Regions from separate parts of the Homo sapiens genome. Here regions 1, 2, 3, 4 and 6 are each linked to region 5. The links are contacts of gene promoters, found by promoter capture Hi-C in blood cells and fetal thymus (Javierre and others, 2016). All regions are on one chromosome and are shown on one strand. Each heading gives the region's core, a stretch centred on a gene start or on the middle of the fragment in contact. The rest is flanking DNA. Distances are from core to core; before and after follow the strand shown. Region 1 overlaps WDR1 (WD repeat domain 1). Region 2 has its middle 27 kb from the start of WDR1. Region 3 overlaps ZNF518B (zinc finger protein 518B). Region 4 has its middle 7.3 kb from the start of WDR1. Region 5 holds the start of RAB28 (RAB28, member RAS oncogene family). Region 6 has its middle 7.9 kb from the start of ZNF518B.

Evidence for each region. The method cuts DNA at HindIII sites, captures the fragments that hold promoters and counts their contacts. A CHiCAGO score of 5 or more calls a contact.
Region 1: a fragment that was not itself captured here is called in contact with the fragment with the promoter of RAB28 in region 5 in 9 of 17 cell types (total CD8 T cells, neutrophils, naive CD8 T cells and 6 more); the score reaches 30.6 in total CD8 T cells.
Region 2: a fragment that was not itself captured here is called in contact with the fragment with the promoter of RAB28 in region 5 in 1 of 17 cell types (naive CD8 T cells); the score reaches 6.1 in naive CD8 T cells.
Region 3: a fragment that was not itself captured here is called in contact with the fragment with the promoter of RAB28 in region 5 in 7 of 17 cell types (naive CD8 T cells, naive CD4 T cells, non-activated CD4 T cells and 4 more); the score reaches 11.8 in naive CD8 T cells.
Region 4: a fragment that was not itself captured here is called in contact with the fragment with the promoter of RAB28 in region 5 in 10 of 17 cell types (naive CD4 T cells, total CD4 T cells, neutrophils and 7 more); the score reaches 16.0 in naive CD4 T cells.
Region 6: a contact is called between a fragment that was not itself captured here and the fragment with the promoter of RAB28 in region 5, in 9 of 17 cell types (non-activated CD4 T cells, naive CD8 T cells, total CD4 T cells and 6 more). The highest score is 30.9, in non-activated CD4 T cells.

What each region holds. Positions count from the first base shown.
Region 1 is chr4:10,105,501-10,108,913 of GRCh38, forward strand. The region is part of intron 2 of WDR1 (WD repeat domain 1); the gene reads right to left. Among named protein-coding and RNA genes, the nearest start is that of WDR1, 9.6 kb to the right of the region's middle. RefSeq lists a silencer at 1,307-1,356 and an enhancer at 1,967-2,698. The HindIII fragment of the contact is 876 bases long and covers 1,528-2,403 here.
Region 2 is chr4:10,141,763-10,145,312 of GRCh38, forward strand. No RefSeq gene overlaps it. Among named protein-coding and RNA genes, the nearest start is that of WDR1, 27 kb to the left of the region's middle. The HindIII fragment of the contact is 2,259 bases long and covers 1,104-3,362 here.
Region 3 is chr4:10,441,207-10,444,412 of GRCh38, forward strand. It overlaps ZNF518B (zinc finger protein 518B), which reads right to left. Exons shown (of 3, transcript NM_053042.3): 3 at 1-3,206. The coding sequence ends at 1,898. Among named protein-coding and RNA genes, the nearest start is that of ZNF518B, 15 kb to the right of the region's middle. The HindIII fragment of the contact is 4,941 bases long and covers 1-3,206 here.
Region 4 is chr4:10,122,496-10,125,613 of GRCh38, forward strand. No RefSeq gene overlaps it. Among named protein-coding and RNA genes, the nearest start is that of WDR1, 7.3 kb to the left of the region's middle. RefSeq lists enhancers at 259-759, 760-1,260. The HindIII fragment of the contact is 2,556 bases long and covers 499-3,054 here.
Region 5 is chr4:13,482,573-13,485,709 of GRCh38, forward strand. It overlaps RAB28 (RAB28, member RAS oncogene family), which reads right to left and starts at 1,768. Exons shown (of 7, transcript NM_001017979.3): 1 at 1,504-1,768. The coding sequence starts at 1,578. LOC105374495 (a long non-coding RNA gene) reads left to right here and starts at 1,877. Exons shown (of 3, transcript XR_925413.1): 1 at 1,877-2,382. RefSeq lists silencers at 1,300-1,919, 1,913-2,207, 2,170-2,229 and enhancers at 1,653-1,947, 1,743-2,650, 1,910-2,029. The HindIII fragment of the contact is 2,971 bases long and covers 1,003-3,137 here.
Region 6 is chr4:10,463,761-10,466,964 of GRCh38, forward strand. No RefSeq gene overlaps it. Among named protein-coding and RNA genes, the nearest start is that of ZNF518B, 7.9 kb to the left of the region's middle. The HindIII fragment of the contact is 8,106 bases long and covers 1-3,204 here.

The DNA of each region.
Region 1 (3,413 bases), core at 716-3,215, 3.4 Mb before region 5:
CAAGTAAGCACATGAAAAAGCGCTCAGTGTCATTAGTCTTGGGAAATGCAAGTCAAAACTACAACAGAATACCACTCCATACTCACTAGAATCAATAAAAAGAAAAGACTGACATCACCAAGTGCTGGCAAGGGTAGAGGGGTGGGGACACTGGAATGTTCACACTGCTGGTGGAAATGCAAAATGGTACAGTTGGAAAAGAGTTGGGCAGGTTATTTATAAACCTAAACAGACACTACTCACACCAAACACCAGCAACCCCACTCCTAGGTATCTGCCCTGGAGAAATGGAAGCATGTGTCCACCAAAAGACACAGGAGCAATGTTCACAGAAGCTTTCTTTGCAATGGCCAAAAACTGGAAATACCCAAATATCCATCAACAGGTGAACAGAGAAACAGGCAACACACCGCACTGCTTAGTGATAGAAAGGAACAAAGTGCAAATGCACTCAACACCAGCTATCAATCGCCAACATGTTATGCAAAGTGAAAAAGCCAGACAGAAAAGACTACACATTGCCTCTCACTTCATATGAAAGAAGATTTTAGAAAAGGCAACCCCAATGACAGAAAGCAGATAAGCAGCTGCTGGGGGTGAGGGTGGAAGGGGTGGCGGGGGCGGGGGGCACCCTCCGGAGTGACAGGAATGTTCTGTCATGACAGGGGTGGTGCTTATGGGACTATATAGGTCATCTGTCAAGATCCAAGCCACACACTGAATACAGACAAATTCTACTGTATCTAAAGTACACCTCAATAAAACTAAGATGCTGGCTATTTATTAAATGTCTGCCCAATCCAACCCTCTCCCACTCCAATTAGTCCTTCATATTCTGACACTGACACATCCCTACCCAAAGCACCTGGCAAGAAAATGATCCACTTAACAGGCAGCCCCTCCAAGACCCTGTTCGGTGTACACTCACAGCTGACTGGGGATGGGGGAGGTCTCACGCTCACATACAGGGGCACCTGCCCATCCCGCCAGACAGATGGCCTCGTGGGCTCTCCCAGCCTGGACGACCTCCTCCCCAGGCCGTGCTGCCGTAGAAAGGGTGGGGCTCCCATGGGCCTTCCGCTGGGGAGGGCATCCAGAGATGGAAGATGCCTGGGCAGGGGCATGAGAGGAAGTTCTGCCCCTAAAAATTCCTTCCCCTAAATGGTCAGGGCTGTGTGTAAAAACCCCAAAGGGCAACAGAATCCTGCCAGCTGATGAATCACTCACTCTCGTTTGTATTCTAAATACAACTGGGTCAGCGGTGGGGGCTGAGATACTCCAAACTGCAGATAATGACTTACATCTGAGTCAGAGCAGCCTCCTCCCCAGCTCCTCAGCTCGCAGAGGGAGGCTGCTTACTACACCCAGAAAGATACCTCACACCCCCACGTGTCACTCGGCCTGTGAGGCTCTGTCCCCATCAGCTGGGTCGAGATGGCACCTTGACACCCTCAGTGTGCCCCTCTCCCCCCAGCCTCCTCCCCCTCCTTCCATCTTGGGGAAGAAGAATGAGATTGGGGGTTGAGAAGCTTATTTGGGGAAAAACTCTGGAATGGGGAAAACGAGACAGGGAGGGCAGGAAGCCAATTCCAGGAGCCCCAGTGCTACTGTAGGCAAAAGTTCTGTCTCCCCATCTCCCTGGGGGCCTGGGGGAGACCACCATGAGCAGCCTTGGAGTTGCCCACTCAGGGACACCCCTCCTCCCAGGCTTTCTTCTCATGCTGCTGCAGGCTGGGCCAGCTCTGGCAGTGGGAGGCTGCCGTTCAGTCCTCACCACAGGCCTGCCCAGTTTTCCTTGCCAACTCCCAACCCATCTTCTCTTTTACCTCCACCATTTTCAATGCAGTCCTCCTGTTCTTCCTGGGAAGAGCGATAACTGCTTTGGAATGCATCTCCACCCTCCACCAAGCCGGTAGTCTTCAAATCCCGACCCTGATTACCTCACGGTCCGGCTTGCAACCCACCCTTCCTGAGCTCCCTCCAGGCTTCAGCCCACTCGTCGCTACCCTGCTGCCGCCCTGACGTTGCCAGCCACTCCTTGGGCTGACTACCCCAACCCATGGCCCCTCACCCCAACCCTTGAGGATAGAACAGGTGCAGCCCCTCTACCTTGCTGGCCCCAGACCCCTTCCCCAGTGGCCTCCACACCTGGGGGCTAGGGCCTGTGAGGGCCAGAGCTGGGGCTGGGATAAGACCTCGAGACAAGCCCCAGAATTCTGCCACCACCCCTGGAGGAGTCCGGGGGCCTCTGAGGACATGAAGGACACCAGCCAGCAATCAAGGAGTCACACACGCGAGCAGACCCAGGACCCACGGACTTCGGCAAGTGACAGCATGTAACAGCACCCAGCCCTGCCAACACAGGGCCTGGTTCAAGGCCCAGTGGTGCCCATTTGAAGCAGAAGCTTTGGACTTGACCCGGGAGGCCATTCTACTCTGTCACACTATGCTCAGGTCCCACCAGCCCCCACCTCCCACCTGTGCACTGAGGCATCCTGCCCAGGAATAGCTGGTCTTTTTCTGAGAATCCTGTTGAATGGCAAACCTAAACATACTCCCCCCCGGCACCTGTACAATGTCTGTGCCGCCTTTGAGACTCGCTATAATACACAGGTCATGCAAACAAGCACACAGAAGCGACATTTCCGTAACTCTGTTATGCCCCAGGCAGCAACATTTACAATTAGTGAGCCCTGAGCCCCTCAAAGCTCTCTTACTTTCCTATGTCCTCCCAGTCTCAGGTGGGTGACGGAGGGGCCAGAGGTCACTACTCCAATTTACAGGTAGGCTGTGATGACCCTGGGTCCTGGGGCTTGGGTCTCAAGGCTTGCCACTGGTATCTCAGCTCCTGGCCCACAGTGAACCTGATGGAACATGCTAGAAGGTTGGAGATACCTGCCCAAGCAAAAAACATTTCAGCAGATGACGACACAACACTGATGAAGGGGCCTGCTGTGCCCTCCTTTAGCTGCCAACTGTCCCCGGGAACCCCAGAGAAAGTCTCAGGCGTCCTCCATGGTCCACCCAGGCCAAGTGAGCGTGAGCTTCCAGTCAGGGCACTGGCTTTGTAAATACTCCAAGTTCCTGCAAGCAACAGAGGCTGAAAGCTGTTACTGCTGTAACTGACCTGTGCAAATATAACTGGCCAGGGCCCTTATGTTCACTGGTGACTACAACTAAGGCCAAGGCTGAATGACAGCAAAAAACCTCAGCTCCAAAGCAGGAATGTAAACTTCTGCGACAACACAACGCCTTCTCCTAATTATCTTTTAAGGCCCAGGCAAAGGGCTTCTCCTCCAAGCAGCCTTCCCTGATGCTCCAAGCTAGAAATCATCTCTCCCACCCTGAACCCCCACCTTCCCTGACTCCCACCCCACTGCCCTCACTACTTTCCACCTTGGACTACACATCAT
Region 2 (3,550 bases), core at 983-3,482, 3.3 Mb before region 5:
CAGGCAGTGACTCTCACTTGGGAGTGACATCACTGAGCCACGAGAGACTGGCATCTTGGCCCATGTGAGCCAGAGCTCCACACTCGGGTGTCTGTTTCCTGGGTTAGGGGCTCTGCTGAGTAGAAATGCATTTCCTTGGTCTTGTTGCATGCATATCTCAATATTAAGTGACCTCTGGCACAGGTGTTTCACATTTTTATTCAACATCTTAATTCAGAAACATAGGAGCCAGGATTGTAAAATCTCACTTGGCAAAGGCAGAAGTAAACATGCAGTAAAGGGGTGGTGACTCCAAGTGATCATATTCGAGTTTGTGTGGCCATCCATAAGGTAGTTGCCACACTTGAACTTGGTTATGAATCTTTTAGTGTCTATAGGGCTAGATCACAAAATCTCGACTTCGACTGACTGTCCACACCACTGGCTTCCAGTAGTGATCTGAATCAAGTATAAATAGTTACTGACACCTCTGATATATAAAAGATTAAGCATGCTGCACAGTGGCCCACACCTAGGTTTCACTTCCCAGGCTCTTGCAAGGATCTGGGTCTTTCTATCCAGAGTTCCCCTACTGTTGGTCTAAATCTCTGAAGACTTGAGTTCAACTTGCCAGGCAGCTGGTTTTGCTTGGAAGACTATCTTTACATCAGATCCAAGCATGGGAGGTTTGGCTTGGAAATTCAATCAAGATTCCATGGGTGAGACCTCCTTAGAAGCCTGAGGGGCAAGGTGTTGGGAATCCTTGCCAAGAATTTGGCAAACAGCTGTAGGCTGATATCTCACTGACTGCCTGAGGGCACCATAAAAGGATCCTCAGGTGTGAGGACAAGTGAGCAGTTGACCAAGTCAAGGGGGCAACAAGAAACTATCCAGATAGTCTCTGCAGAATGTTTGGGAATGCCTCTGGCCACTTGCCGTTCTATCTAAACATACTAGCTTTCTCTCCCTTAACTGAAAATCCAAAGTGTCAGTGACCGACCACTCGCATAATGGTGGCTATACTAGTCAGGGTTTCCTAGAGGAACAGAATAGGATGGATACACACATATAAAGGGGAGTTTATTAACTTACACAACCATAAGATCCCCAATAGGCTGTCTGCAAGCTTGAGGAGCAGAGCCAGTCCAAGTCTCAACTGAAGAACTTAGTCCGATGTTTGAGAGGTTAGGAAGCATCCAGCATGGGACAAAGATGTAGGCTGGGGGTCTAGGTCAGTCTCACCGTTTCATTTTTCCTGCCTGCTTTATATTTGCTGGCAGCTGATTAGATTGTGCCCAACAGATGAGAAGGGTTGGGTCTGGTTTTCGCAGCCCACTGACTCAAATTTTTATCTGGCAACACCCTCACAGATATACTCAGGAACAATAGTTTGCCTCCTTCAAGTTGACACTTCAGTGTTAACCACCACAATGGTTAATGCTGTGGCAAAGTGACAATATCTATGCGTACCATAAATTATCCCACCCAGTAGCAAATTCTGCAGGGCAGCTCCTCTGGAGACTATTTTTCCCCCCTCCCGGAAGGCTGTAAACTGAGAGAACTTTGAATGAACAAATTCCCAACATAGCAGCCCGCATCATTTCAGCATGTCTTTTAACGCTGATTGCTTTTCACCTTCTGGCAGTTTCCCAGGCTCTGGGGTTTAGTAGGCACATCCCCTTCACATCAGGATCATCTCCATGCTCATACCCAGTCTTTGAACCAGTTCCTGGCAATCAGCTTTCAGCTCAGGGCTTTGAGCTGCAGATGCTCCGTCGTCCTCTCTCTCCTGAGCAGGTGAAGAATCTTGACTTTGAGTTGGTGGTTCCACTTCTTCAGGTGGTTCATGACTGAACTGCTTGGGCAGAATAGGCCAGATCACCTTAGGTTGTACAGATTGTATTGGTCGAGGCTGATTGATCTTCCTCACCGACTCATTTCACACAGATGAGTCTCAGTAAAGGAGTCAACCGCCGGAATGTGACAGCATATCCTCACAGCTCCCCAGGACACTTTCTTGGTGTTGATTCTGCCTCTCAAACTTAACTCACTGTGATGTCCAAACTTTGAAAAGGGAGCCTACTGATACTCATGGAGGGACAGGCATGCAGGGGACCCGTGTGCAGCGTCAGAAGGTGTGAGGCTGCCTTGTCAGTGTGGTCCCCATCTTTGTGCTAGTAGCTGCTTCTCGCCAAGAGCCAAGGTTCTTCCAGGTTGGTAGGGGAGGAGGCAGTGCTGAATCTGACTTCCCAGCTTGGACCACGTTACATCCACTGACACTCATGGCTCATGGTGGTTGTGTGGTTGAATTGTCTGGAAAGTATATGCACTAAATTAGGAATACAAAAGATCTACGATTTAAGAAAAGGGAAGCTGTCCCATCATAATTGAACCTGACAATTTTGCCAGTCCAGCAGGGAGCTTTGGAGCAAGATAATCCTCAATTTGAATCCCACATTAGGTGGAAATGGCTCAGCTCAATGTTGGCTTGGGGCCACCCCAAAAGGAACATGAGCTAACAGCTAGAGCCCTTAGTAGGTAAGCATGCTCACAGCCAGACAGTTCTGTGAAGGTGGTGTGTGACATGTTGTCAGATCTGCAAGTGATGGGCAGCTATGGTTTCAAATCGGGTCTGTAAGGACTGTCATTCTAAGATGTAGTTGATAGTCACTGTATCTTCTGCGAACTACATCACAGCTGGCCAACACTTGACTGGTTTAGGTGACCAAAGTCTTTTGTTCCTAAGTGGTCTGAGATCCTGGTCTGGTCAGGTTATGGCCATTGTGAAGCCTAGCCACTGGGAAGCTCCAAAAAGTGCCCTAGTGACTCACCCACATCCCATATACTTTCCTCCCTGTATCAGCAACCCCTGATCTCCAGGCAAAGGAGCTCAGAATAACCTGGTGGCACTGCTTTTGTTCCCTGGTGGAAGTGTCTAGGACTGCAGTGTCTTAGCCTGCCAGAACTAACCTTGCAGGGATGGAACATGAATGGTCTCCCTCCTGAGCATTGTGGGTTGTGAGGGAGAAATTTCTCCTTGGATCCAGACCTATACTCTTGCTACTAGATAAATAGTATAGGACATCTGTCCAAAATACTGCAACTCAAATATGCTAGTTCCAGACTGGGTTTCTTGTTAGCAAACTGCCTCGAAACTGCTGGTGAACCAAGGGTAGGCTATGGAAGAGGCCATCACAAGCCAGTCTTCTTTCCCCCTTGAGCCAGGTTGGGTCGGCTGTGGAATAGTTCATGGAGATGGTGCAGTTGAGCTCTTGGAGGTGCTGAGTCAAGACTGGAAGAGTTTGTCTAAAACGTGTAATAGATTTAAAACCTGTGAAAAGGGGAAGGAAGCAGGATCGGGCAGAGGTCAGACTAGGATGTAAAGCTTGACTGAGCCTGTCGGGGAGCTCCAGAGGCAGCATCTCATTAAGGTGGTTCCAGGTCACAGATGGGTAGGACTGCTGGTTTGGCTAGTTCATGGCTGTGGGCTGCCCTTGGAGGGACTGACTAAGGCTGGCAGACTACTCCCTACTGAGCAGCATGTTGTGTCTTGAATAGGGATTGGGTGGTG
Region 3 (3,206 bases), core at 667-3,166, 3.0 Mb before region 5:
ATAAAATAGGAAATCAGAAAATTAGCTACTGCAATTTTCATATGGTAAAAAATATTTTTATGTGTACACATACACATATATAAAAATGCAAGTTTTAAATTTCAATAAAAATTTACCAATTAACTTGATGATCATGTATTGAATTATACAAAAGAAATGTTGATTATCTGTAATGAGAACAAACTGCAAAGGATTGCAATTCCATCTACTGGAATCTAAGACTTTCCCATGTGAAAAAAAAAAAAAAAAATCAAAGTCTCCAATCGACTACCCAATAAACAATCACTGGTGTCTTTTTCAGGTGCAACAACTCTTTAGTTTCATTCACTGCACCCCACAAATCGCCTAAGACAGGAATAGCCCCTGGAGGGAGGGAAATGCAAGTTGGGGCTGCCTCGGGGTTGTGCCATCTGTGCTCTACCTGGAAGGTCAGCGCCCAGCTGCACAGGCAAGTGAAGACTAGAATCCTGTCTTAAGCACTGACCCAGCCACCTATCTGCCCAAGAGGCTGTGCTTGTGCAGGGGGTGGGCCTTTTTCTAAAGAACACAAATGTGTAGATAAATGACAGTCCTGACATCTGTTGGTAGAGAGGGGAGTGGAAGGAGTGTTCCTGGAGTTGCTTCCCTGAGAAAGCTGAGCAGCAGGGTAAGCATGAATGTGGTTAAGACAAATTAGAAACAGCGTTACTATCAATGAAAACTAGGGATCGTGTTCCTGTAACTTTAGCAAAAACAGTGGGAGGTCTCCATTTTGTTGATTCCTGCCATTTTCTAGTAATCGCATGAGGGAAAACCTTAAGGGGTCTCAAAGGCACAGAAAGGAAGAAACAGTGGGCAAGGAAGTTGTGCTAGTCCACAGGAGGGCCGGTTCAGAAGAAATGGCAAAGGGAGTCTAGTGTCCATGAATCAAAGGGATCAAGAAGAGAGAAGACAGCATCCACCCATGGTCTTTGGATGAATCCCAAATGAAAACTAAAGGGCATATGAAACCCTTTTCACAACTTTATGAGCCTACCTTGAACTGTGTTTGCGAGTTTTACCTATGTTGTAAGCCTGTTCCCTAGCATTTTAAATTGGTCACTTATGTTTCTGGGAGTGGTAAGGGCAAAGAGAAAATAGTTTTAGATATTTTCCTTTTGTAATCTCTTTTTGTCTTTGCAAAAAGGTACGTTCCCTTCCCATATGTCATAAACCAATGTATTTTAAAGAAAGCAAAAGCTAAGTATTTGAAAATGTTATCTTTCTTCTAACACTTGCTGTGAAAGGAGTAAATTCAGGCAAGCAGTTGAAAACATTCTTTAAAATGGCCAGTAAAAGCAAAACTCTTTGTGCTATACGGAACACTCGGGAGTATTACAAAACCAGGGAGGGAGTAAAAGAATGGCCATTTCTCTATAACCAAATTGAAGACAGTAAAGTAGAAAATATAATTTCCATTGTGCACCAAATACTCAGAACACAAATTAAAGCAAAAACAAAATGGATGTGCACACCAAAACAAAGGTTTTTCTGTAGCATTTATATGAAGAGCATGTGTAAAACATTCTCAATCTGCCCCTCTGAATGGATTATGAAAGATCAGTATGTACTCAGAAAACGGGGTGCTAAACAAAGAAAAGTCTCAGATCCCACTGAAAATCTGTTCAGTTTCACAGGCTCTCTCCAGAAAAATGCATATGTACCAATTTGCATGTACAATTTCAGAGCCTTCAAATACATTCTGGGGTCCAATCACATACTTCAGGTTCAGACTCCTAGCTCCCAATATTCCTACAGTTCTGAAGAATTAGCAGTCCTCTCATTTCTACAGTCTGTATTTCTTCTACTGAATCTTGGTGGAGGGACTCCAAACCAGAATAAACTAAAAGATAACTTGCTTTAAAGAGTAACTGTTTACTTATTTGCCCTTGGAGGAAAGAACATCCCAATCTCTAGTTGCTTCTATCAAATGCCGTTGGCCATGACTCATCCACTCTTCCTGGTCTTCATACAGTCGCCCACAAAACCAGCACTTAAATACACACTGTGAAGAATCATCAGGCAAGGAATCCACTACCTGGTAGTTGTTTTTATGAACTTTTTTGAGTTTCATTTTCAACATCATTTGCCTTTTAATTTGACTGGCTTCTTCCGCATTCTGGTAGGTCAGGCGTACATGATGCCGTCTGATGCCTAGCTGACACCTAGTCCTCTCTGATAAAACAACTTTGAGGACATTGCCTTTGTATTTATTTATTACCTTCATCACATTGGTCACTTCTGGCGAGTCCACATCAGGGTGGTTTAACACAATGACTGGCTGGTTCCGACGGGGACACTTAATCAACTGATCTGGCTTAGCTGCTATCAGTCTTAGTTGCCTTGCAACCTGAAAAATTGAAGGATCCTTGAGACAGCGGCTAGGTTCAGCTTGAATTTTGTTTTTCTTCCTGGATAAGTGTACTTGTTTGGTTTTATTTCTACTTATAGAAAGACTTCTGGAAAGCAGTCTCCCTTGCTTATTTAATTCACTGCTTCCTTGCTGTCCATACAAGAGGCCAGTTTTTCTATGGATGGTGCTACAGACAGCACTCTCTTTTCTCAGTTTAGGCCGCAGAGGTGTCTCGATATTTGGGGACATATCTATTGGCCCCCTTTCACTTCTTAAAGGCTGTAAGTCTGAGTCCGCCTGTCTCACAGGGCAAAATGGAACTGGTTTTATTAACTGTCTTTCACTGCAAGGTATGCTGACAGGTGCTTCACATGTAGCCTCTATGATGTGGGCATTCTCAGAGGAATTAAGAACCCTCAACACAGCCCCTTTGGGGATTAACACTGGCGTGGCAACATGAGCCTTCCTGGCCACTCTGCTTTTGGTTTTCCTATTACTGCCATCTGCAAAGTGTGGATATATTTGTTGATGAGTAAGCTGTCTATTACCAGTAATACCACCATCATTCGGAGGTTTCTGAAGAGTACCTGTGGAATGGCCAAGACCAGTGAGTGACACGTTGATTTCTTGAATACCTTCAGAGGTAGCTTTTGAAGTTCCCTTTGATGCCTGCCCTACAGAGCGACGATGTGCACTATTTGAAGCCAAAGATGACGGCTTCCCACAGGACTCAATTAACTGAGCTATCTTTCTGCGCAACAGTTCAATTGACTTTATTTTAGACGTTGAGCTATTCCACTTAATGCCCTCGGGGACATTTTCAGATCCAGAGCTC
Region 4 (3,118 bases), core at 527-3,026, 3.4 Mb before region 5:
CCTGTAGCTGCAAAAGAACTCTGGGGACAGTTAAACAATTCCCCTGTCCCATTCTTCTTAAACTCCCATAAGTGATAGAACACAGTCGCTTCTGTCTACCTGCTGCCTGAGACTTGGTGTGTTGCTGTGAGGCCTGGTGACAGCCCCGGCCTGTCCTTTCCCGGGACCCTTCCTGGAACGTTTACTTACCCTCATACTTGCAAGCACTTCGTGTGAGCTAGATGCTGGGTTTGTGGGCCCTTGCCCTTCATCTTACATCAGGGAAGGGAACTTGGGTTGGAACTTTGCCGAGTTGAAAAGCAAGTGATGCAACCAGGAGTTAAACAGGTTGGGTCTACAGAGTCTAAACTGTCCTTTACACGTGAAAGGGCTGAAATGGATAGATCAGATATGGAAGTTTTAATTGTGCCCCTAAATAACCAACTTTTCCAGTGAAGGTAGAATCTTAGCATGCTCTCACCCAAGTTCAAGGATAGCGTCAGTCGCTCTCCAGTTGAAAGCTTTGTCTTTGGGTAACTACTTACCGTCCTAGGGTTTCTGCCTTTTCCTTCTGACTCAGTCCACAGTGCCTGGGTCTTTGCTGGCCTCCAGTTGTGTGGTCAGAGCTAACGTGTTTGGCTGTTGAGCACCGGTGTCTGGCTTGTTTTGTGCCCACAGTGCAGGGGCTTGGCTACGTGGTCACTGGGCATCCTGTGGTGCTGTGGGGGTCTGGTCTGAGGGCTGTGCCAGTGCCTGTTGCTGATATGGAGATTCCGGTCATGAGGCTGTTCGCTGCAGCGAGTCTCCTTGTACAGACCCTGTGGTGTGGCCTTCTTGCCCATTGGCCTGAGGGCTTGGGTCCTTCCTCTGCTCCATGAGCATAGAAACTCTAGATCTCAACACCCTGTGTTTGAGTGTTCAAGACTGTTAAACAGAACTGGATCCCAGCCCTCTTTTCCAGGAGTGCTGAGGATCTTTGAGCCCTGACACAGCCACAAATCCATCACAGCTCCTGCCAGCACCTCCCAATGCTGCCCCTGGTTCCTTGGCGGTGGCCTCCGGCCATTTCCAAACACTTCTGCTATTAGCTGCCTTTATAGTCGGCTTCCCTCAACACGTGGACCAAAGGGTCAGCTTTTCTGCCAAACAGGATGGACATAGATTGTTAGTGGAGGAGGGCTCTTGTATTTGTTGCCATGGAGACAGTGACCAGCTGGATGCCCTGCCTCTCCGTTCGCATGCCTCCCTGTGGGGGAGGGGGGGAATCGCACTGCGGATGGGCCTAGGGAACTTGGACATGTGTCATTCAGCCCTTTGCTCCTTTGACTCAGGCTCTGCCTGCCTGTGGTAAACAGGTGCTCTGATCTGCTCCCTCCAAGTGGGTGGTGTTTCTGGGTAGACATTGCCCATCCCAGCAGTGGGGATCTGGTAGTTGAGATCTGCATGTGGCTGGGAAGCTGTACTGCTCTGCTAGGGCTGGCATAACAAACTGCTATGAACTTGGTGGTTTCAACGGAAATTCTTTTCTGGAAGCCAGGAAATCTGAGATCAAGAGGTGGGGTGTGGTTGGCTCCTTGCCAGGCTGTGAAGACTGTTTCAGGCCTCTAGCTTCTGATGGTCTGCTGGCATCTCTGCTCCTTGGCCTGTGGGACCACCACCCCATCCCTGTTTTCATCCTTAATGTCTTCTCCCTGTGCCTGTTTCCGCTTCCCTGTTTAAAGGACACTGGTCCTATGGGAGTAGGGCCCACTTTGAGTTTTACTTCATCTTAATTGCAGCAGCAGGCCACCCTGTCTCTAAACAAGGTCACACACTGAGAAAATACTTCACTGTAGGGGCTGAGTTTCATCTATATTGAAGGTAGGGCTTGCCCTGTCATCCTCCCACCCGTAAAGCCCCAACCACCAGCCTCTCAGCGCCTTGGGGACAAGGCAGAGGCGGTTGAGTTGCGGTGACCCACCTTGTTGACAGTGGCAGTGGTCACACTGTAAAGTGTTGCCACCCATTCTGGGGCACCAGCCCTTGGGGAAACTGGACTTAAGGCACAACCTGGATCAAGAGGCTAGGTGCCTGCACTATATCTGCCTGGCAAAGGAATCACTGAGGAAGTGACTGAAAAGTGCTTCCCTATCTCTGACCCTGGTTTTGGCTTTCATCCTAAAATGCTCTAATGAAGCGGCCTAAAACACATGGCTGCCTTAGAAAACAACCACTGGAGCATTTGAGGAGTTGGCATCTCCCCCGCCTTTGGGGACCGTGGGACCAGTTTCTTAGCTCGGCTGCTGTGGCCATAAAAGTACTCCTGCTTCTAGGCATGACCCGGAGGATGGTGGTGGCCACAAAGCAACCAGGAGTGGGTGCTGTCTCAATGTCCCTGGCTTGGGCCCTAGGTCTAGACAAGGACCTCGGTCCACTTTGTTCCGGTCTGGGAGGGTTCCAGTCATTCCCGATGGCATTGCTGGGATTGGACAGGAAGTCCCTACCATACACAGGCAACTCAGGTTCATGTAGAAGGAGGCTCCTCAATAAGGGAAAACATCAAAGGGGGAAGTTTTAGATGAATGAGCTCAGACTCCGATGAAGCTGATAGACCGAGTAGCTCGACACATTCTGGAATATCTGGCAACTGGCATGGACTCCGTAAAAGGATTTTAATTTTTGTCTGCTTTTCGAGGTACATTTAGGCACAGCTGTTAAATTGGTAGTTATGTCCTATTGGGAAAGATGCTGCAGTTGTGGCCACAGTGGAGGCTTCTACACACGTGGGACACGGGGGACCCTGAGAGACTTGGCCCTGCTGCAGATTAAAGATGACCGAGGCAGTATAGTGTCGGCAGGTCAGCCACATACCTAGTGCTTGCCTGGCATACTGGATGTTAAATGATTTTCAATCTCATCTTAGGTAGTACGGGAAAGTGGTCTCTAATTTGTTCCCCATATGATTTGTAGGAATGGTCTTAAAATGCTGGGTGGTGAAATCAACGTTGTGTTCCTTGTAATATTTGAAACCTGGAAACTGCAAGTGCTCAGTCATAAGAGCTGGTGTCAGCCACTGGGTGTCTATTTGGTTCACAAAGCTTACTTCAGCCCTCCCAAATGTTCTCCCACTCCACATCAATACCCAGCTTCAAAAGGAGCC
Region 5 (3,137 bases), core at 518-3,017:
TTTTATTGAATAAAGGTGTTAGAAACAATGATTTATTTATAGCAATTCATTCATTCGAAAAGTTTACTAAGTATACAAAAATTAATATACTTTATAAAGAAAAGTTACCCCAAGTTCCTTTCTTCCCCCAACGTTTAAAGGTAATCAGAGCATATTGTTTTCCTCAGCTTTAAAAATCTGTAACAAAGGATCCAAGAAGACAAGAAAGAAACAAAAAAATACTTCAAATTTTGCATATAAAATTTTACATCTTTCCCAGGTGACCTCGAAACTCAAATGTCAGAACCAAAGGCAGAAGCAGGTATCTGGGCAGTGCCAACTGTCAGGGAGGATGCAAAGAGAAGTCGTCACCAGAGAAACCAGGGTCCGAAATGCAACCAGCAACAGGGAAATGTGAAGCCTTAAACAGGAAATAAAAGCCTGGGTTTCTTTAGACTATGGTTGGGATAAGGAAGGGGAGTACAGGGGTGATAAACTTTAGCAATATTCCCAGAAAGTGTTGGCGCCTTTGACAGAAGCATGGGAAAGAAGGCATCCGGGTAGAGGCTCTTCACTATTTGCTGGTGGAGGGATCATAGACCCCTCTGAGATCTTATGGACCCTCTCCCCAGAGCACGTACCGGGCAGTATTTACTCCATTTCAGGAGTTCCACAGCCTTGGGGTAGGAGCCCCTGCCTAGGAGATAATAAGACTGACGCTGCCTGATATTCTCACGCCCGCATTCATTCATTCGAACAGGGGATCCCTTTTGTCACGCAAGCAGCTCTACCCTCAGCATCCTACCCGTAACAGGAGCTCCATAAACACTTGTTGACTGACTGCTTGTATCGAGTGCTGAGCTGGAAACAGAGGTGATGAACAGGTATGATATTAAAATAGCAACTAGAGTGTACTGAGTGGACACTGTGCTCTAAAGGTTTTATGTGTATTTTCACATTTAATATGTATTTTCACATTTCTCCCTTTGCGGCGGCCCTTTTCAATACCCATCTTACAGATGAAGCTTAAACTGATTAGCAATTTGCCCTCCAATGACCCGACGACTAAGTGGCAGAGCCCCAATTCTCACCCGGGGAATACTGATTCCAGAGCTACGCTCCTGGGAGCTCACGATGCAGTAGAAGCATCAGAAACGGTAAAGGGGGTGGGAGGGGAGGAGTAAGTGTGACCCAGACTACAAGTAAGAGGAGCTAAGATGCCTTGGCAAATCCCTGCCAGTCCTGAGAGGCGGGAAGCTGAAAGGCTGGCCCGAGTCTTGCAGGAGTTCGCAATCCAGGCGGGGAGTTAGGAAGTGACTCTTTTTTAAGGGGGAGCTGGACAGCTCTCGTCGGCCTTCACCAAGCGCCCACTTCGTGTCCGGCCTCAGGCCACACAACCAGAAGGGCCCGGGCCTAGAAGCCCGAGGGCTCGGGGTAACGAGGCGACGCCGGGCGGCGGGGAGGAGGCCGGGGACCGCCGGGGTTCCTGCAGGCCTGGGACGGCGGGCCTGCTCGAGGACTGACCTTCCCGGAGGCGCCGTCCCCCAGCACGACGATTTTCAGTTGCCGGTCCTGGCTCTCCTCCTCAGAGTCCGACATGGTGTCCCGGGAACCAGGCCCGCCCCTCGAGGTGGGGGGGGAAGGGAAGGATGAAGGCTCCGGGGGCGGGGGAGAGGAGGAAGGGAGGTAGTTGCGGCAGGACCCCCGCCCCGGTGTCTCCGCGCCGGCAGGAGGTATTCGAGGAGAATCACTCGGCAAGCGCCATCTTGCCCACCTCCCCGCCCTCTGCGCGCGGCCCCGCCCCCTACGCGCACGTCGGGCGCGCGCCCCCGCCTCAGAGCCAACCCGCGCCGACCGGCGGCCCCGCCTGACGAGCCGAACCACTCGCGGCCCTGGACTGGTGTGGGGGACATTCCGGCGGGAGAGGCGAGGCGCTGCGTTTCCCTTCAGGAGACAGTTGGCTAGAAGAAGAAAAGAAGTGTTCGTTCAAATTAAGGAGAGAAAACGGGAGCAGAGCAGCTTTCAGGCGTTCCATCAAATTCCCTTTTCTCCTTCCCTCTTGAGAAAGTCTCTGAAGGGAATGGTTCAGCCTGACGGGGTGGAGCAGTGACGCCCGGGCTACGCGCCAGGGTTGCCTGGCAGCCAGGAGTTCGAGGACCGGCGGCGGGGCGGGGCCTGTCTCCGGGCACCCGGGACGCCCGTAGCCTGGCGGAGAGCGCCAGAGAGGGCCCCTGAAAAACCGGACCAGGGAAGAGGGTACCTCGGGGCGGATGAGGGGACAGCTGCTAAGGGCCGAGGCTGCTGGGAAGCCTCAGTAGCGGCCGTGAATACAGTGGAGCTCCGGCGCTGCTTATTTCGGCCTAACTCTTGGTTTCCTCATCTGAACAACCCCAGGCTCCCATGGTTCGTTCATCAGACGCTACTGATCGCCAACCTCCTGGCACCCCATCTTTACCCTAAGGCAGCAGTTCTCATAAAGTGTGGTCTAGGGACCTCTGGAAATCCCGATGACCTCAGAACAATTTTCATAATAATACGGACACCTTGTCTGTCTTTCTCACGTTCCTTCTCTCACTAGTATACCGTTTCCTGGAGGATACGCTTTGTGTACGACGTCATCACTGGCAGCTAAGGGAGCTTGCGTTTGTTGTTTTTAAACATTTCTCAGTTTTCATTTCAATGCAGTAGTGATAGGTGTAACCCACATAAACATAAGCTCTTTGGAGGTCACAGTAATTCTTTAACATTATAGAGAGGCCCTGAGTCCAAAAAATTTAAGAACTGCTGCCCTGGATAATCTCAGTCCAGGAGCGTTAGGTAAACGGCATAAATGAAATTTACAATTTAGTGAGGTAAATTCAAAAATAATAATGCTGTCCTGCTATGGTTGTTTCATTGTTAATCACTTAAAATTTATTGTTACCTTTACTACTATTAGGAATTATGAAGTATAATTATCCCCATTTTGCAGATGAAGTATCTTAAGTTAACAAAATGCTTAGCCCAGAGGCAGTAGTCTTGGAGACCATATGGGCATTAGAACAGGAAAGCAGAACAGTGTAAAGAAATGCCCAGACCTAGAGGCATCACTGGAGTTTAATCTCATGTTTACTAGATATGTGTCCTCGAGCCTCAGTTAGTTCACCTGTAGAACAGAC
Region 6 (3,204 bases), core at 89-2,588, 3.0 Mb before region 5:
TTACAGGCGTCTGCCACCACACCCAGCTAATTGTTTTGTATTTTTAGTAGAGATGGGGTTTCACTATGTTGGCCAGGCTGGTCTCGAACTCCTGACCTCGTGATCTGCCCACCTTGGCCTCCCAAAGTGCTGGGATTATAGGCATGAGCCACCGCACCCGGCCGCAAGTATATTTTATCTTACTAGTAAGGGGATGACAGCCCTGAAAATTTATCTTTCCAGTTTATCCAGGAACCCTGTAAAGAAAAATGTAAATGATTCATTTATTTAGCAAATAAGCAGGTTGAGAACATTGTTACATCAACATCTGCCACTGGAATTTCTCTTGGGGAGAAACCATTTTTATTAAGAAAAATGAAATTCCAGAGCTTGCCTTGGAGACCTCACTTCCCAGACCTAAAGCAGAGTTTACTCCTTATTCAGAACAGCATAAGGAGAACAGCATTAGGAGAACAGCATAGCTCCCAGGAATTTTTCTTTTCTTTTCTTCAACTTTCACTTTAAGTTCTGGGGTACATGTGCAGGATGTGCAGGTTTGTTACACAGGTAAACGTGTACCATGGTGGTTTGCTGCACAGATCATCCCATCACCTAGGTGTTAAGCCCAGCATCCATTAACTATTCTTGCTGCTCTCCCTACCCCCATTGACAGACCCCAGTGTTTATTGTTCCCCACCATGTGTCCATGTGTTCCCATTATTCAGCTCCCACTTACAAGTGAGAATATGCGGTGTTTCGTTTTCGTTCCTGTGTTAGTTTGCTGAGGATAATGGCTTCCAACTCCATTCAAGTCCGTACAAAGGACATGATCTCATTTCTTTTTATGGCTGCATAGTATTCCATGTGTACATGTACCGCATTTTTTTTATGCAGCCTATCATTGATGGGCATTTGGGTTGATTCCATGTCTTTGCTATTGTGAAGAGTGCTGCAGTGAACATATGCCTGCATGTATCTTTATAACAGGATAATTTATATTCCTTTGGGTACATACCCAGTAATGGGATTGCTGGGTCAAATGACATTTCTGCCTCTAGGTCTTTGAGGAATCGCCACATTGTCTTCCACAATGGTTGAATTAATTTACACGCCCACCAACAGTGTAAAAGTGTTCCTATTTCTCCGCGATCTCACCAGCATCTGTTCTTTTTTGACTTTTTAATAATAGCCATTCTGACTGCCGTGAAATGGTTTCTCCTTGTGGTTTTGATTTGCATTTCTGTAATAATTAATGATGTTGAGCTTTTTTTCAGGTTTGTTGGCTAAGTGTATGTCTTCTTTTGAGAAGTGTCTTTTCTCGTCCTTTGCCCACTTTTTAATAAGGTTGTTTTCTTCTTGTAAATTTGTTTAAGTTCCTTGTAGATTCTGGATGATAGACCTTTGTCAGATGGATAGATCAGAAAAATTTTTTCCCCTTCTGTAGGTTGTCTGTTCACACTGATGATAATTTCTTTTGCTGTGCAGAAGCTCATTAGTTTAATTAGATCCCATTTGTCAATTTTTGCTTTCATTGCAATTGCTTTTGGCATTTTCGTCATGACATCTTTGCCTGTGCCTCTGTCCTGAATGGTATTGCCTAGATTTTCTTCTAGAGTTTTTATAGTTTTGGCTCCCTGGAATTTGAGGTTAGGAAAACTTGAGAGAAAAGTTCAGAGTAGAGAAAGCACCCTAAGGTGAAAGGTGTTCTAGATAAATTTCCAGAAGTTAGGTGGTCACAGACTTTTAAGAATGAGCAATATAATAAATTGTTTTTTCACTGTTTCTGTGACTCTTTAGGAAAAGTCTGATACATACAATGTAGTGATCGTAGTTATGTTGGAAGCTGCCAGGTTTTACCCAATATGCTTTCTCTTTTTTCTTAATGGAACCCCACTTTTAGCTAGATATATGGACGCCATGGGCCTTTAAGCCCCTTTTAGAAATACTCTGTGAAACGTTGCTAGACAACCCACCAAAACATATAATTAGTTTAAGGTTGCAGTAGTAGCCCAGTCTGGTAGTTGTTACCCTAAATCTGTCTCTCCTCTTTTTTCCTTAATTATGACCTTCCTACAATTTCTTACTGGGCACATAGCTGCTCAGAAAGAAAGACTGGGCAGGGCTGGGTGACTCACACCTGTAATCCCAACACTTTGGGAGGCTGAGGCAGGCGGATCACTTGAGGCCAGGAGTTCGAGACGAGCCTGGCCAACATGATGAAACCCCGACTCTACTAAAAATACGAAAATTAGCCGGGCATGGTGGCGCATGCCTGTAATCCCAGCTACCTGGGAGGCTGAGGCAGGAGAATTTCTTGAACCCAGGAGGTGGAGGTCCAAGCAATTCTCCTGCCTCAGCCTCCCAAGTAGCTGGGATTACAGGTGGGCACCACAACACCTGGCTAATTTTTGTATTTTTGGTAGAGGCGGGGATTCACCGTGTTGGCCAGGCTGGTCTTGAACTCCTGACCTCAAGTGATCTGCCTGTCTTGGCCTCCCAAAGTGCTAGGATTACAGGCATGAGTCACCACACCCGGCCTAGAAAATCTTAATAACAGAAAAATATAAGAAAAAGAATGCTATGCCCAAAATATGTCAAATATGTTATCTTTAGTTAAGACTGAGTACGTAAGTGACAGGGCCCCATGCAAAATGAATATGTGGAGTTCTTTTTTCGAAATATCATTAATCTTGTAAAGACATAGAGCATTAAACCAACCATGAGGTCCCTGTAAGTGTGGGGACTTGTGTGACTGCACAGATCACATGCCCTTGAAGCCAGCCCTGTCTTCAGTTAAGTCTTCTTATTGGAAAGCCAACTGCATTATTTCCTATGGCTGCTATAACAAATTACCACAAACGTGGTGGCTTTAAACAACACACATTTATTATCTTATAGATCTGGAGGCCAGAAGTCAAAATGAGCTAAAATCAAGGCGTTAGCGTAGTTGGCTCCTTCTGCAGGCTCTAGGGATGAGCCCATTCCTTGTGCCTTCCAGGTTCCCAAGGGAGCTGGCGTTCCTTGTCTCCTGGCTCCACATTGCATAGCCTTTTTTCCTTTGCTTTCTTTGTCGCATTGCCTTCTCTCTGACTCTGACTCCTGTACTCCTCTGTGTTAGTCCATTCTTGCATTGCTGTAAGGGAATACCTGAGGCTGGGTAATTTGTAAAGAAAATAGGTTTATTTGGCTCATAGTTCTGTAGGCTGTACAGGAAGCATGGCACCA